5 separate regions of the Homo sapiens genome follow, and regions 1, 2, 3 and 4 are each linked to region 5. The links are contacts of gene promoters, found by promoter capture Hi-C in blood cells and fetal thymus (Javierre and others, 2016). All regions are on one chromosome and are shown on one strand. The core of a region is centred on a gene start or on the middle of the fragment in contact, and the rest is flanking DNA. Distances in the headings are between cores, read along the strand shown.

Region 1 (2,700 bases), core at 52-2,551, 280 kb after region 5:
AAAAAACTTTATTGGGAAAAATTTGTGAAATCGGAATAAGATCTGTGGATTAGATAAAATAGTTGGTACCAAAGTTAATTTCCTAATTTTGATGATTATCTATACTTATCTAAGAGAATGTCCTTGGTTTTACAAAGCATATACACCAAAGGAGTAGAGGGGAGTAATGTCTGTAAAGTAACTCACAAACAGTTCAGAAAAAGTAAAATTATGATTCTAGATACAGTACATAGAAAGATAGGTAGGGGCAGCCAGGCGCAGTGGCTCATGCCTGTAATCCCAGCACTTTGGGAGGCCGAGGCGGGTGGATCACAAGGTCAGGAGTTCAAGACCAGCCTGGCCAAGATGGTGAAACCCTGTCGCTACTAAAAATACAAAGAAATTAGCGGGCACCTGTAATTCCAGCCACTCGGGAGGCTGAGGCAGATAACTGCTTGAACCCGGGAGGCGGAGGTTGCAGTGAGCCAAGATCACGCCACTGCACTCCAGCCTGGGTGACAGAGTGAGACTCCATCAAAAAAAAGAAAAAAAGGAAAAAAGAAAGAGAGAAAGAGAGAGAGAAGGAAAGGAAGGAAAGGAAGGAAAGGAAGGAAGGAAGGAAGGAAGGAAGGAAGGAAGGAAGGAAGCAAGCAAGCCAGCCAGCCAGCCAGCCAGGCAGGCAGGCAGGCAGGCAAGCAGCGTAGTGGCTCATGCCTGTAATCCCAGCAATTTGGGAGGCTGAGGTAGGCAGATCACCTGAGGTCAAGAGTTTGAGACCAGCCTGGCCAACATGGCAGAACCCCATCTCTACTAAAAATACAAAAATTAGCCAGGCGTGGTGGCACACGCCTGTAATCCCAGCTACTTGGGAGGCTGAGACAGGAGAATTGCTTGAACCCAGGATGCTGAGGTTGCAGTGAGCTGAGATAGTGCCACTGCACTCCAGCCTAGACAACAGAGTGAGACCCTGTCTCAAAAAAAAGAAAAAAAAAAAGATAGGTAGGTAGTTGGGTGGGTGGAAGGTTAAGGTTAATGTCACAAACAATATTTAGGGTATCGGGCTGAAAGATATACAAGAATTATTTGTACTATTCTTGTAACTTTCTTGCAAGTCTGAAATTGTGTCAAAAATAATTTTTAAACAATTTAAAGGTGACAGTAGATCCAAATGCTGAAGGAGACTGGGAATTTGTGGGTGGGAAAAGGTGGGGAATGGAATTAATTGCAGGCCGAGTAAAGACTTAAGAAAGCATTCAGCTGGCTAGCACCTGAAGATCCAGCTACTCGGGAGGCTGAGGCAGGAGGATTACTTGCAATTAGAAATTCTAGGCTTGCAGTGAGCTATGATCATGCCTGTGAATAGCCACTGTATTCCAGCCTGAGCAACATACCAAGGCCCTGTCTCTAAGCCACCAGGAGATGGTGGCCCATTTCACAGAAAGCTGCATTTGAGCATGTTCTAGAAAGAGGTGCCACAATCCTCCAGGCAGACAATAGGAGGAAGGGCCTTTTAGTCAGTGGCCAGTAGGTATGAGTGAGTAGGGCACTAACAGGCAGGAGGCAGGTGTGGCTGAGGTACTGGATATGGGCACTAAAGATGGATATGTAGGTTGTGGCAAAATTGCAAAGGACCTTGAATGCCCTGCCAAGGCGTTGGGACTTCATCCTGTAAGCAGGGGGTGGGCAGTGACATGATGAGCTAGATGTTGTAGAAAGTGAGGAGGACGAGCCAGGTGTGGTGGCTCACACCTGTAATCCCAGCACTTTGGGAGGCTGAGGCAGGCGGACTACGAGGTCAGGAGATCGAGACCAACCTGGCTAACACAGTGAAGCCCCGTGTCTACTAAAAATACAAAAAATTAGCCGGGCGTGGTGGCGGGCGTCTGTAGTCCCAGCTACTCAGGAGGCTGAGGCAGGAGAATGGTGTGAACCCGGGAGGCGGAGCTTGCAGTGAGCCGAGATCGCGCCACTGCACTCCAGCCTGGGCAACAAAGCAAGACTCCATCTCAAAAAAAAAAAAAAAAAAAGTGAGGAGGATGAGTAGAAATGAGCACGATAGGAGTCGGGGAGACCCAGGAGACTATCGAGGTATCTGGAGGTAAAAGAAGATGCTGAGGGCTTGAATTAATTAAGCCCGTTGGGCCAGAACTGGAAGGGCAATATGTACATTCACACCCCTAGGAGGCAAACTGGCAGGACATTTTTGGTGCTCTCGTTCCAGTTTGCTCTGCATTGCAGAGGCCGTGGGACCAAGTGACTGGTCAGCAAGGGTAAGCCCCTAGTTGGTTTAGAAGGTGGGGAAGTGGGCTGGGCGCAATGGCTCATGCCTGTAATCCTAGCACTTTGGGAGGCCAAGACGGGTGGATCACCTGAGGTCAGGAGTTCAAGACCAGCTGGCCAACATGGCAAAACCCCGTCTCTACTAAAAATACAAAAATTAGCCAGGCGTGGTGGCACACGTCTGTAGTCCCAGCTACTTGGGAGGCTGAGGCAGGAGAATCACTTGAACCCGGGAGGCGGAGGTTGCAGTGAGCCGAGATCACGCCACCGCACTCCAGCCTGGGTGACAGAGCGAGACTCCGTCTCAAAAAAATAATAATAATAATGATAAGAAGAAGGTAGGGTGTGTCCAGTGTCCACTTCTTTTGAACTTTATTGGAGCTAGGGCCTTTATCAGGAACTGAGAGCCATAGCCATCTCATTGTAAATTCAGACCACCAC
Region 2 (2,700 bases), core at 85-2,584, 350 kb after region 5:
TAGATTTTAACCTTTCTCAGTTTGAAATAGGTGAAGTCACTAGAATATCAGCTTGCTTTTTCTTTTCAGTATTACTGTCATTTATAATAAAACCAGATGTCAAATTTGCCCGTAAATATCAAAATGTCTTAGAAGTGAATGAAAAGGAGCTGGTGAAACTTAATGAAGGATCTGTCATGTGTCAGGGGTGTTTGTTGCATAAGAGGTTTTATTTATTTATTTATTTTTGGTATTAGTGTTATGCATGGCTTACTGTATAAAGATAGCTTTGTTGCCAGTAAATTAAAGGACTTGTTTCTTTACTGTTGCATAAAAAATGTTTTATTTGTATGATTATTCCTCCTTGTTTCAGATGAGTGAAGAATGGTTTGCTTTGGGAATATTTTCTTAGTTCTTCAAGGACATGATGTGGAAGTCATGACTTGAGTAACTTCAATAGCACTAACAACAGGAATTGAAAAAAACTTAGAATTTTAAAGCTGAGAAAGAGGTAGAGATTTTTCTCTGTCTTGGGTATGACATATATGTTATTCAGTATGGTAGCAATTGAGCAATTGAATGTGGCTAGTGTGAAGAATTAAGTGTTTTTTATTTTAATTAATATTTAAATAGCACCATGTGACTGCTAGCTACTATTGGACAGTGCAGCCTCAAACTATTAAAATTTAACATTAAGTATATTAATGTTATAAACTTTCAAAACCTTAAGATAGAAATCTAACAGAAACTCCAAAAACAAAATAAGCCAATTTTACTAAATAAAATACTGTAGTTGGAAATAACTATAACTTAAAGCAAATCTAACCCAGTAAGCTATCAAAAAGAAAAATTATATAATTACCAAGTAGAGTTAATTTCACCTGAGTTCTATGAACATATTCATTATTAAAGGAAACCTCAAATTATTGTCCCATTGGAAGCAAAATATACATTTATAAATAGCCATTTCTCGTTTTAAAAAACTAATAACATTGAAATAAACAGAAACTTAAGCTCTTCTAGTTTGCCAAAAACCAGAAAGCAAACATCATATACTAAATGATGAAATGCCAAAGCCATTTCCATTATATCAGAAACGAGACTAATACTTCCTGTCATCATTTACATGATTGTCACTATTATTAAGCATTGTTTTGGTAGTTCTAGCCATTGCAGTAAGACAGTAGACAGAAAGTCAAATAATTGGCATAAATATTGGAAACAAAAAATTATTTCTACTTTGAAATGATACAATAGAATAGCTGGAAAGCCCAGGGGGACTCTAGTAGAAAACAGCAATGAGGATTAAATGTAAGACACTTTGGAAAGCTGATGTGTGAGAAATGTACACAAACTAATAGCTTTCTCTTTATTAGTAGTCATCAGTTGAAAATGGAAATGACCAAGCAAAAATATTCAACAGAATGACAAAACTATTGGTTACACCTAGGAATAAATGTGTTAAAGAAAGGTACAGAGTGAAGGTAATGACCCTTATGAAGAAAACTTGATATTATAAAAAGTAGTCCTTTTCTCCCTCAGTTTTTGTCTTCAAAATGTTTACTTGGGACAGATCGTGGTTTACATGATGGTCCTCAAACATATTGTGAACAACATTAAAAAAAAAAGACACATTTTACTCAATAAGTAACATTTTTTGAGAAGCTACTATGTGCTAGGGACCTAGTTTTTAGTGCAGTGGTCTCCAAAATAATGTACTGGCAGTATGGGAAGAGCGTTTAGAACACTGTACCTTTTTATTTGGGAGGAGAAAAGAAACCTTTGTCAAATATTTAACACCTGCTGCCAGAGGTCTGTAGATTTGATGATTGTGTGCCATGAGTTACACACAGACTCCTAAATCAGTTTCACCTGTGGTGTCCTCATTCTGTTTACTTTGAGCATTTTGCATTCTATATCTGCTTAGTTATATGGATTTATTCGTCCCATATAATATGTGTAGCCACATGGACACATGTTCTAAAAGGTTTTAAATTCTGCAAGATAGTGACGATGATGTAAACACAAGAAAAGGGCAAATGGATACATTTTCCTACTCTGTGCTCATCAAACATATTACAGGATAAAATTATTGGCTATCTAATAAAAACACAGACTAATAAGACCTGATAAGTTGGACAAAATGTTTAAAAATTAACATGAAGATGATAGGAAGTATGAATCTATATTCACTGTCATTAATGTCAAACCTTTACCTTATGGTATATTGTACTTTGAGAAATTATGGCCAGGCATGGTGGCTCACACCTATAATCCTAGCACTTTGGGAGGCTGAGACAGGAGGATCTCTTGAGCCCAGGAGTTCGAGACCAGCCTGGGCAACACAGGGAGACACTGTCTTTAAAAAAAAAAAAAAAGGAAATTAGTTTAATAATAGTATGAAGATATTGTGAATAGCAAGACATTTAATATAGTTTATTTCATCTCTAGCTCATTCTTTAAAAATTATTCTTTTTTGTAATATATAATTTAGATTTAATTGTATATATAATTTATTAATACAAATATATACATATATATATAGAATATATATAGAGAGGGTAGTGGATACTCAGTTTTGTGGTTTATTTTTTAACTTGATTAGGAAGCTGATGAAAATAGCTTGAAGGCTTCTTTTGTAACCAAATGCAGGTCTGGATGCTCACTGCTTGTAGAGTCCAGTTAATATGAGTGAGGTCTGGTAGAAAGAAAGTAACTTTA
Region 3 (2,700 bases), core at 139-2,638, 330 kb after region 5:
TTGTATTTTTAGTAGATATGGGGTTTCACCGTGTTAACCAGGATGGTCTGGATCTCTTGACCTCATGATCTGCCCGCCTCAGCATCCCAAAGTGCTGGGATTACAAGCGTGAGCCACCGCGCCTGGCCGGGTCTTTCTTTTCAATCAGCAGAGAATATTGGTCAAATCAGGACAGTTGATACTGATAGAATGCTGTTACCTAATGCACATTCCATGTTCAGATTTCCTCAATTGTCCCAACAATGGCCTTCATAGCTATTACTCCTTTCTGTTTACCTCCCCAGCCACCCTGGATCTAATCCAGGATCATGTGTTATATTTAGTTGTCATAGCTCTTTAGTTTTCTTTCATCTCCAATAGTTCCTCAGCCTTTGTTTTTCATGTCTTGGCTTTTGGCTTTTTTTTTTTCTATTCTAACATCATAATGTCTTGTTATTTTTGAAGAGTTCATTTCAGTTATTTTATAAAATGTTCTTCAGTTTGAGTTTTCAGAGGTTTCTTCATGGTTAGATTCAGGTAATGCATTTTTGGTAGGAATACCACAAAAGTAATGTTGTGTCTTCTCAGGCATCATATCAAGAGTTGGTCTGTCTTGTTTTTGGTGATACTAACTTTGATTACTTTATTAAGGTAATATTTGGTAGGTTAATCAGCTATAAAGTTACTATTTTCTCCTTTGCTATTAAGAAGTAATTTGTGGGAAATGTTTTTAGATTATGTATATACCTCGTTTCTTACCAAAGTTTTACCCAGTAGTTTCACATCCATTGATGATTCTTGCCTGAATCAGTTATTAGTAGGATGATTGCAAGGTGATGATTTTCTGACTCGTAATTCTTTTACATGTTAGTTGGCATTCTGCTATAAGAAAGAACTTTCTCCCCTGCTTACTATTAATTTGCTTACTTATCTTAATAAGCACTCGGTTTTTTTTTATTCTAAGGTACTCATCATTATTTATTTTGAGGCTCAAATTAGCTTATATTTAGCTGGTGGGAGCACCCTTAAGCTGTGATTTGGGCACGCGCCGTCATTCTTTGAGCCCTTTTTACTTTCTCGCACAAGATGTTCCAGGCTCATCTTGTACTTAGCCTGTTGCAGCCTTGGAATTAGCCATTTCTCCAAGTAGCCCTCATTCTTTTTGGCTGGGAATAATGTTTATAAACTAAGATCTCTCAGCACAGTAGAGCTGAGAAATATAAATAAATAAGCATATCTACATCTGTTTATGTCTGTGTGTATTTGTGTGTTTATCACCATGATTTTATACTGATACCTACAATTTCATTCAACACCACAAGCCTAGTCTTGCCCCTTTCCATATTTGTAACACCTTTCTCCAACAGTAAGAACTGGTTCCCATTATCTACAATGAGTGTGTACTCATTTGCACAATTCTATAATCAGAGAAAATAGTTCCAGAATTGCTAACCCATACCATTGTAAAGAAAACCCCTTATAACTCAAGTTCAAATTTGTTTACAGTTCTTTTTGTCTGTATACTGAAAACATAAAAAGTACTATGTTAAAAAGCTATTTGGTTTAGTTTTAGTCTCCCTTTTAATACACTTATTTAACATAAAGTTTGTTCATTTGTTTGTTTGATTTCTGTTTTAGATTTTTTTTTTTTTTTTTTTTTTTTTTTGAGATGGAGTTTTGCTCTTGTCCCCAGGCCGGAGTGCAATGATGCAATCTCGGCTCACTGCAGCCTCCGCCTCCCAGGTTCAATCGATTCTCCTGCCTCAGCCTCCCGAGTGGCTGGGATTACAGGCGTGGGCCACCATGTCCGGCCAATTTTTGTATTTTTAGTAGAGACAGGGTTTCACCATGTTGGCAGGCTGGTCTTGAACTCCTGACCTCAAGTGATCTGCTCACCTTGGCCTCCCAAAGTGCTAGGATTACAGGCATGAGCCACCATGCCTGGCCCCATTTTAAGATTTTTAAAATCTCATCCTTACTGATTTTATTTTGCTTTTTGAGTATATAAAACATTATCATGGTTCCAAAAGTTAAAACTACACAAAAAGCTGTGCTAAGCAATGTCACTACCTAATGCCGGCCGCTCACTCCTACCCACCCCCTGTAGACAACCAATTTCATTAATTTCTGATTGATCTTTCCTGTGTTTCTTTTTGTAAAGAAAAGCAGGTGGGTATTTTCTTTTTTTCCCTCACAAAAGATAGCAAACTAGATACATTCTTTTGGACTTTTTTTTTTTTTCATTTAGCTGTATATCCTGGATGTCACTCCATGTTTGTAGGAATTTTCCTTATTCTCTTTTTTAAAACAGCTTCTAGTACTCCATCTGTGGATGTGCGACAGTGAATTCAACCCATCTCCTATATGTGGGCATTTAGGTTGTTTCCAATATTTGTAGTTACAAATAATGCAGCAGTTAATACCCTTGTACAAAGATATTTTTGTATTATCAGGTATCTTCAGGGAAGAACACACAAAAAAATTAACTTTTTAATTGTGTGAGCAGCAATATGTAAGATAATACTTCAAGCTATTTGTCTGCCTACTCCACACTTCCACTGTGGTCTTAGAAATGTATCCAAGGCTGTTGAAGTGAAATACTTATCTATCGTAATTATTTTTCTGTTGGGAAACCTTGAAATTAGAGAGCTGGAAGTAGCCTTGGGGACATTTTTAGTCAAGTAGTAGCCGATCATAGGCCCTGGGTCAGGGTTCATTTTA
Region 4 (2,700 bases), core at 114-2,613, 270 kb after region 5:
GGAGGTGTGGTCTTCCATGCGCCCCAGCTCAGCCAGGGACAATCTAAGTGGCCTTAATAGATCACTTAACCTACCTGAACCTCAATGTTTGTCATCTACAAAATGGAGATAATCACTCATACTCTGCCTACCTCCCAGACCTGTTCTAAGTGGAATAAAGGAGATTTTAGATGCAAGTTATACTTGGAAAATGTTGACACTTCATACAAGTATACATGTTGCTATTAATTTTTGTGGTTCAAATTAGAATTTCATGTTAACTCTGTACCCTCAGAGAAGGCTGCAGAAATTTCTGTGAATATCTAAAAGGAAATAAATTTTTTTTTTTTTTGAGACAGAGTCTCCCCCTTGTTGCCCAGGCTGGAGTGCAATGGCGCGATCTCAGCTCACTACAACCTCTGCCTCCCAGGTTCAAGCGATTTTCCTGCCTTAGTCTCTGGAGTAGCTGGGATTACAGGCATGCACTATCACACCCGGCTAGTTTTTGTATTTTTAGTAGAGACAGGGTTTCTCCATGTTGGTCAGGCTGGTCTTGAACTCCTGACCTCAGGTGATCCACCTGCTTGGCCTCCCAAAGTGCTGGGATTACAGGCGTGAGCCACTGCGCCCAGCCTCTAAAAGGAATCTTTAAAAAAAATTTTGACACTATTTTGGACTATATTTTTGTGAAGTATTTTAGTTATAAAACCCAGTTAATTTTGCTACTCAAGGAAGGTTCTATAAATCATTCTAGCTTCACATTTCCGGTGACATAGAACCATACTAGTCAGGTGTTTCCAAGGACCAGCAACAACAGCATTGCCCGGGAGATTTTTAGAAATGCAGAATCTCAGACTCCATCCCAGACCTGTGAATCAGATTCTGCATTTTTAACAAGATTCCCAAGTGATTCTGTGCACATTTTTGTTTGAGAAGCCTTGTACTAGTCACTAAACCTACAGAGTTTGAGAAAAGCTAAGGGGAAAGAAAGAACTCCAATGCGTGCTACAGTTTAAGAAGCACTCAGAAAAGTTTCCAGACACTGCTTGAGAGCGAAAGTGCCCCCAACACTGCAGTCTCAGGGTGACTGCTGACACAGTACATGCCATTACCTGTAAGAGAGACTTTATTATCCCATTTAATGGATGAAGAAACTGAGGTTGATGAAGGGTAGGTAACTTGACCAAGGTCATGCAACCAGTTAGTAGAGGAACTGGGATTCTAATTCACATCTGAGTAGCTACTTTATAAGGCAGGACACATTCCACCATTCCACTCCAGTTTTTAGAGTAGAAAACCTACTTATAAATGTTCTTTTTAGGCATTTAGAAGTCTAGCTGAAGTGTATATCTTCACATTGTAACACTTTTCTCATTGTGGATTTCCTCCAATTTCATTTTTCTTGTGTTTTAATCAGAGACCATCTTTTTTAAAATGTAATTTAGATACCATAAAATTTATCCTTGTTTTTTTCTTTTCTTTTTCTTTTTTTTTGAGACAGGGTCTCACTCTTGTGGCCCAGACTGGAGTGCAGTGGCGCCATCTCAGCTCACTGCAACATCTGCCTCCCAGGCTCAAGCAATTCTCCTGCCTCAGCCTCCCAAGTAGGTGGGATTACAGGTGTGTGCCACTACCACCTGGCTAATTTTTGTATTTTTAGTAGAAACGGGGTTTCACCATATTGGCCAGGCTGGTCTTGAATTCCTGACCTCAAATGATCCACCCGCCTTGGCCTCCCAAAATGCTGGGATTACAGGTGTGAACCACCACGCCCGGCCGAAATTCATCCTTTTGAAGTGTTGGTATATATATATATATATATTTTCACAGAGTTATGCAACGATCACCACTATCTAATTTTCATCAGCCAGTAAGGAAACTCCACATCCATTAGCAGTCACTTCCCATTGCCCCACCCCCAGCCCCTAAAAACCCCTAAACCACTAATCTACTTTTTGTCTCTATGGATTTGCCTATTCTGGACATTTTATGGAAATGGAATGATATGATATGTGGTCTTTAGTGACTGCCTTCTTTCGCTTAGCATAATGTTTTCAAGGTTCATCTGTATTGTAGCGTGGATCAGTACTTCGTTCCTTTTTATTGCCACATAATATCTCGTGGTATGGACATAGCACATTTCCTTTATCCATTCATCAGTTGATGGACATTTAGATTGTTTCCACTTCTTGACTATTATGGATAATGCTGCTGAATATATGAGTGCATATTTTGTGTGAACATGTTTTCGGTTCTCTTGGGTATATGCTTAGGAGGAGAATTGCTGGGTCATATGATACCTCTATGTTTAACTTTTTGAGGAAGTGCCAGACTGTTTTCAGAGAATATTTTCACCATGTATTGATACCATATTGGATTTTAAAAGAACAGAAGTTAGTCAAAGAGACCCAGGAAGCCACAAAACTGAACAGACAAGAAATAGACATGATTCAATGAACTTTAACCCAAATCACATCTGACTGTGTAGATGCAGCAGAGTAGGCAAAAAATGAATTTGACCAGAACCCAGGAAAGCCAATTGCCTAACAGCCTGTGACTAGCACAGCACAGAACCCTGGAGAGCTGGGCTCCAGTCTCACTAACTCACTGTGTGACCATGGGCAAGTGCCTTCCTCTTTCTGGGCCTCAGGTCTCTCATCTATAAAACAAGAAGTTGTATCTGGCTGTGATCTTACTGTCTATACTTCTATGGTCACTCCA
Region 5 (2,700 bases), core at 147-2,646:
TTCATCCTCTTAAAACTTATTGAAGACTCCAAGAAGCTTTTTTTCATGTGGGTTTTACCTGTCGGTATTTGACATATTAGAAATTAAAACTTCGAAGGGAGAACAACAGATGAGAGACACAGAGCCCTGGCAGGGTGGACTCCTAGTCCCACACCTTCTTAGCCTTTTGCTTCCACATTACCTGAACCAGTCAACACCCCTTTCACAACAGCTAATCCGGTTGGGTTTCTGCCACTAGCAAATGAAAGGGGACTGAACAATACATCCACAAAACAGAGAATTAGCCTAAGACAATAAATAATAAAGGATTAACTTGAGTATAACAGAATGCTGTTTCCTCCCTATATTCGTCATCAATTAAGTGAGAGCCTACTGAAGAGTAATGAATATTACCATCACTGCTAACAGTGCCTTATGGGTTTCAAAGAACTTTCACATTTAGTATTTAAGTTTCACTGGAACCCTATGAAGTATCTTGTTTCATATCCATTTTACAGATGAGAAAACTGAAATGTCCAGTGCCTGTGTGACTTGTCACAGCGGTTTTGCAGCAGAGCCAAGACTAAATTCAAATCTTACTCTCTAAATTCCCGTGGCCCGCCTCACAGGATGCTTGCAGTTTCATGGGGCACAGACCTGTAGCACAAGACTTCCCAGATTTAAAAATCCATCCTCCTGCGAGGAGAGGGGAGCGATCAGCGTAGCAGATTCTCTAAATACTCATTGTATTTGGCTCTGGTCTGTGTGGCGTGAAGAAGGGGGCACGAGTGAGGTTCGAGTTAGCATGGTAACCATTCTTTCTCAGCTCTGTGACTGAGGGGCTGCGGGAGGGGGTTATAGTGGTGCTGGGCATGGCCTCGGGGAGAAGCTGGATAATGCCCTCTGCAGATAACCCGTAGGCTGCGCCACAGCAGCGCCAAGGAAAGAAAGCATCTCTGCTCCAGGTCTCGGCGGAAGAGATGCGGGAACTACGGGGCTCTGATTCTGAGGTCCTGGATTTGGAAGGCGTCTGCACACAAAGAAATAACAAAGTTAAGTTCCCGCGGCTCGACCAGCAGAGTACGAAACGGGGCCTCCCTTCCCAGCTCGGGTGGAAACGCCTCCACCCTGTCACCCCGCCCATAGCAGGTCTTTTATCCGCTGGAGCCGCCTGGACAGTCCTCGCGGGGCACGCCCGAGGCTCCCCGGAGGAACTACAAGTCCCATGAAGTCCCGGGGCGCGGGCGGTGATGACGAAGCCCTCGCCGATTGGCCGCACGGGGCGGGGCGCGCAGGCCTTCTCCGAGAGGAGGGGCGGGGCGTGGGGCGGGGCGAGCAGCGGCGGATTGGCGGGCACGCCCCCTCGCCCGCGGCCCCCTCCCCGCCTCTCTCCACCGCCTCCTCTGGCTCCCCGGTCAGAGGGCCGGAGCGAGAAGATGGCGAAGACGTACGATTATCTCTTCAAGCTCCTGCTGATCGGCGACTCGGGGGTAGGCAAGACCTGCCTCCTGTTCCGCTTCTCAGAGGACGCCTTCAACACCACCTTCATCTCCACCATCGGTGAGGGAGGGGCCGCGGCCCGGGACCGGGTAGAGAATTGGGGGGCGGGTACTAGGGGACGGGGAAAGGGCGGGGGGCGCTTGGGAGCCCGGGAGAGGAGACCCCGGGGACTGCAAGGTGGCGGGGGCACTGAGAGGGGCGAGGGCGTGAGGGAGAGGGGCGAGGGCGTGAGGGAGAGAGGCGAGCGGGAACGTGAGGCTAAGGGCGAAGGGGGAACTTGGGGGCAAAGGAACGGGAAGGGGAACAGAGGAACAAGGACTAGGGGTATTGGGGGAACGAGAGGGTTCGGAGACTGACAGGGAGGGGTCTTTGAGGGACAAAATGTGTTGGGGGGAAGACTCAGGAAATCTCATGTAGAGAGAAGGGGATAGTGGACGTGCCAATGATTAAAAGACAGGAGAGGAAGGAAATGTGAAGGGGGAAATGAGGGATGGGGGCAATGAGAGGGATGTGAAGTAAAGGGACAGAGGACACAAGGGACAGAGAGGTGAGAACCAGGCAACTGGAAGGGAATTCAGGGGAATGAGCGGTCAGGAGGTGAGGAAGAAGGGGACGGCTGGCCACAGGAGGTCTGGACTGAGATGTCGTAGGAGGGGACAGAAGAAAATTGTAGGTGGAAGAAGAGTTCAAGGGATCAGAGGGCAGAATGAGGATACTTGATGGAGAAAGTAAAGGGATCTGGGTGTGAGACAGAAAGGAAAAGAGGAAGCAACATCATAGTAAAGGGAGGTTGAGCAGAGAAGACAGAGGAGATGGAAAAGAGAGGAAATGGAAAGTAGTGGGGCGCAAGACTTGCTATAGTAACTGATTACCATTTTCTCTTCACTTCCTTTGGATCAAGTGCAGGAGAAAGCAAAATGTGACTAATGATGGAATAATGTCTATAGAGCGTTAATTTGTTCTGTGAGTGTTAATGGATGTTAAGGGAATTGGTGACTTTTGGAAATGATGTGGTCAGGAAAATATGGTTCACCTCTTTACTACCATCTCCTGAGAAGCAAGACTTCTCAGTATTTTAAATCCTTCGGTTTGAATGTTTAACAGCTTCTCAGCCAAGGAAATGAACTTACATTCTACCTGCCTCCCTGTATATTTTGCTTTGGTTCTAATTATTGTTAAGTGAATCACAACATGTGATATACCTCTCAGTTACTTCCAATT

Evidence for each region. Contacts are between HindIII fragments. The CHiCAGO score rates a contact against its expected background, and 5 or more counts as called.
Region 1: a contact is called between a fragment that was not itself captured here and the fragment with the promoter of RAB8B in region 5, in 1 of 17 cell types (naive CD4 T cells). The highest score is 5.4, in naive CD4 T cells.
Region 2: a contact is called between a fragment that was not itself captured here and the fragment with the promoter of RAB8B in region 5, in 1 of 17 cell types (monocytes). The highest score is 6.1, in monocytes.
Region 3: a fragment that was not itself captured here is called in contact with the fragment with the promoter of RAB8B in region 5 in 1 of 17 cell types (neutrophils); the score reaches 5.1 in neutrophils.
Region 4: a contact is called between a fragment that was not itself captured here and the fragment with the promoter of RAB8B in region 5, in 1 of 17 cell types (M2 macrophages). The highest score is 5.9, in M2 macrophages.

What each region holds. Positions count from the first base shown.
Region 1 is chr15:63,470,218-63,472,917 of GRCh38, forward strand. No RefSeq gene overlaps it. Among named protein-coding and RNA genes, the nearest start is that of USP3, 33 kb to the right of the region's middle. The HindIII fragment of the contact is 8,815 bases long and covers 1-2,700 here.
Region 2 is chr15:63,541,703-63,544,402 of GRCh38, forward strand. The region is part of intron 3 of USP3 (ubiquitin specific peptidase 3); the gene reads left to right. Among named protein-coding and RNA genes, the nearest start is that of USP3, 38 kb to the left of the region's middle. The HindIII fragment of the contact is 3,441 bases long and covers 1-2,700 here.
Region 3 is chr15:63,518,937-63,521,636 of GRCh38, forward strand. All of the region lies in intron 1 of USP3 (ubiquitin specific peptidase 3), which reads left to right. Among named protein-coding and RNA genes, the nearest start is that of USP3, 16 kb to the left of the region's middle. The HindIII fragment of the contact is 5,599 bases long and covers 1-2,700 here.
Region 4 is chr15:63,453,871-63,456,570 of GRCh38, forward strand. No RefSeq gene overlaps it. Among named protein-coding and RNA genes, the nearest start is that of USP3, 49 kb to the right of the region's middle. The HindIII fragment of the contact is 4,168 bases long and covers 1-2,700 here.
Region 5 is chr15:63,188,210-63,190,909 of GRCh38, forward strand. It overlaps RAB8B (RAB8B, member RAS oncogene family), which reads left to right and starts at 1,397. Exons shown (of 8, transcript NM_016530.3): 1 at 1,397-1,539. The coding sequence starts at 1,416. It overlaps LOC101928972 (a long non-coding RNA gene), which reads right to left and starts at 1,222. Exons shown (of 4, transcript XR_932355.4): 1 at 637-1,222. RefSeq lists an enhancer at 822-971 and a silencer at 1,152-1,481. The HindIII fragment of the contact is 3,523 bases long and covers 35-2,700 here.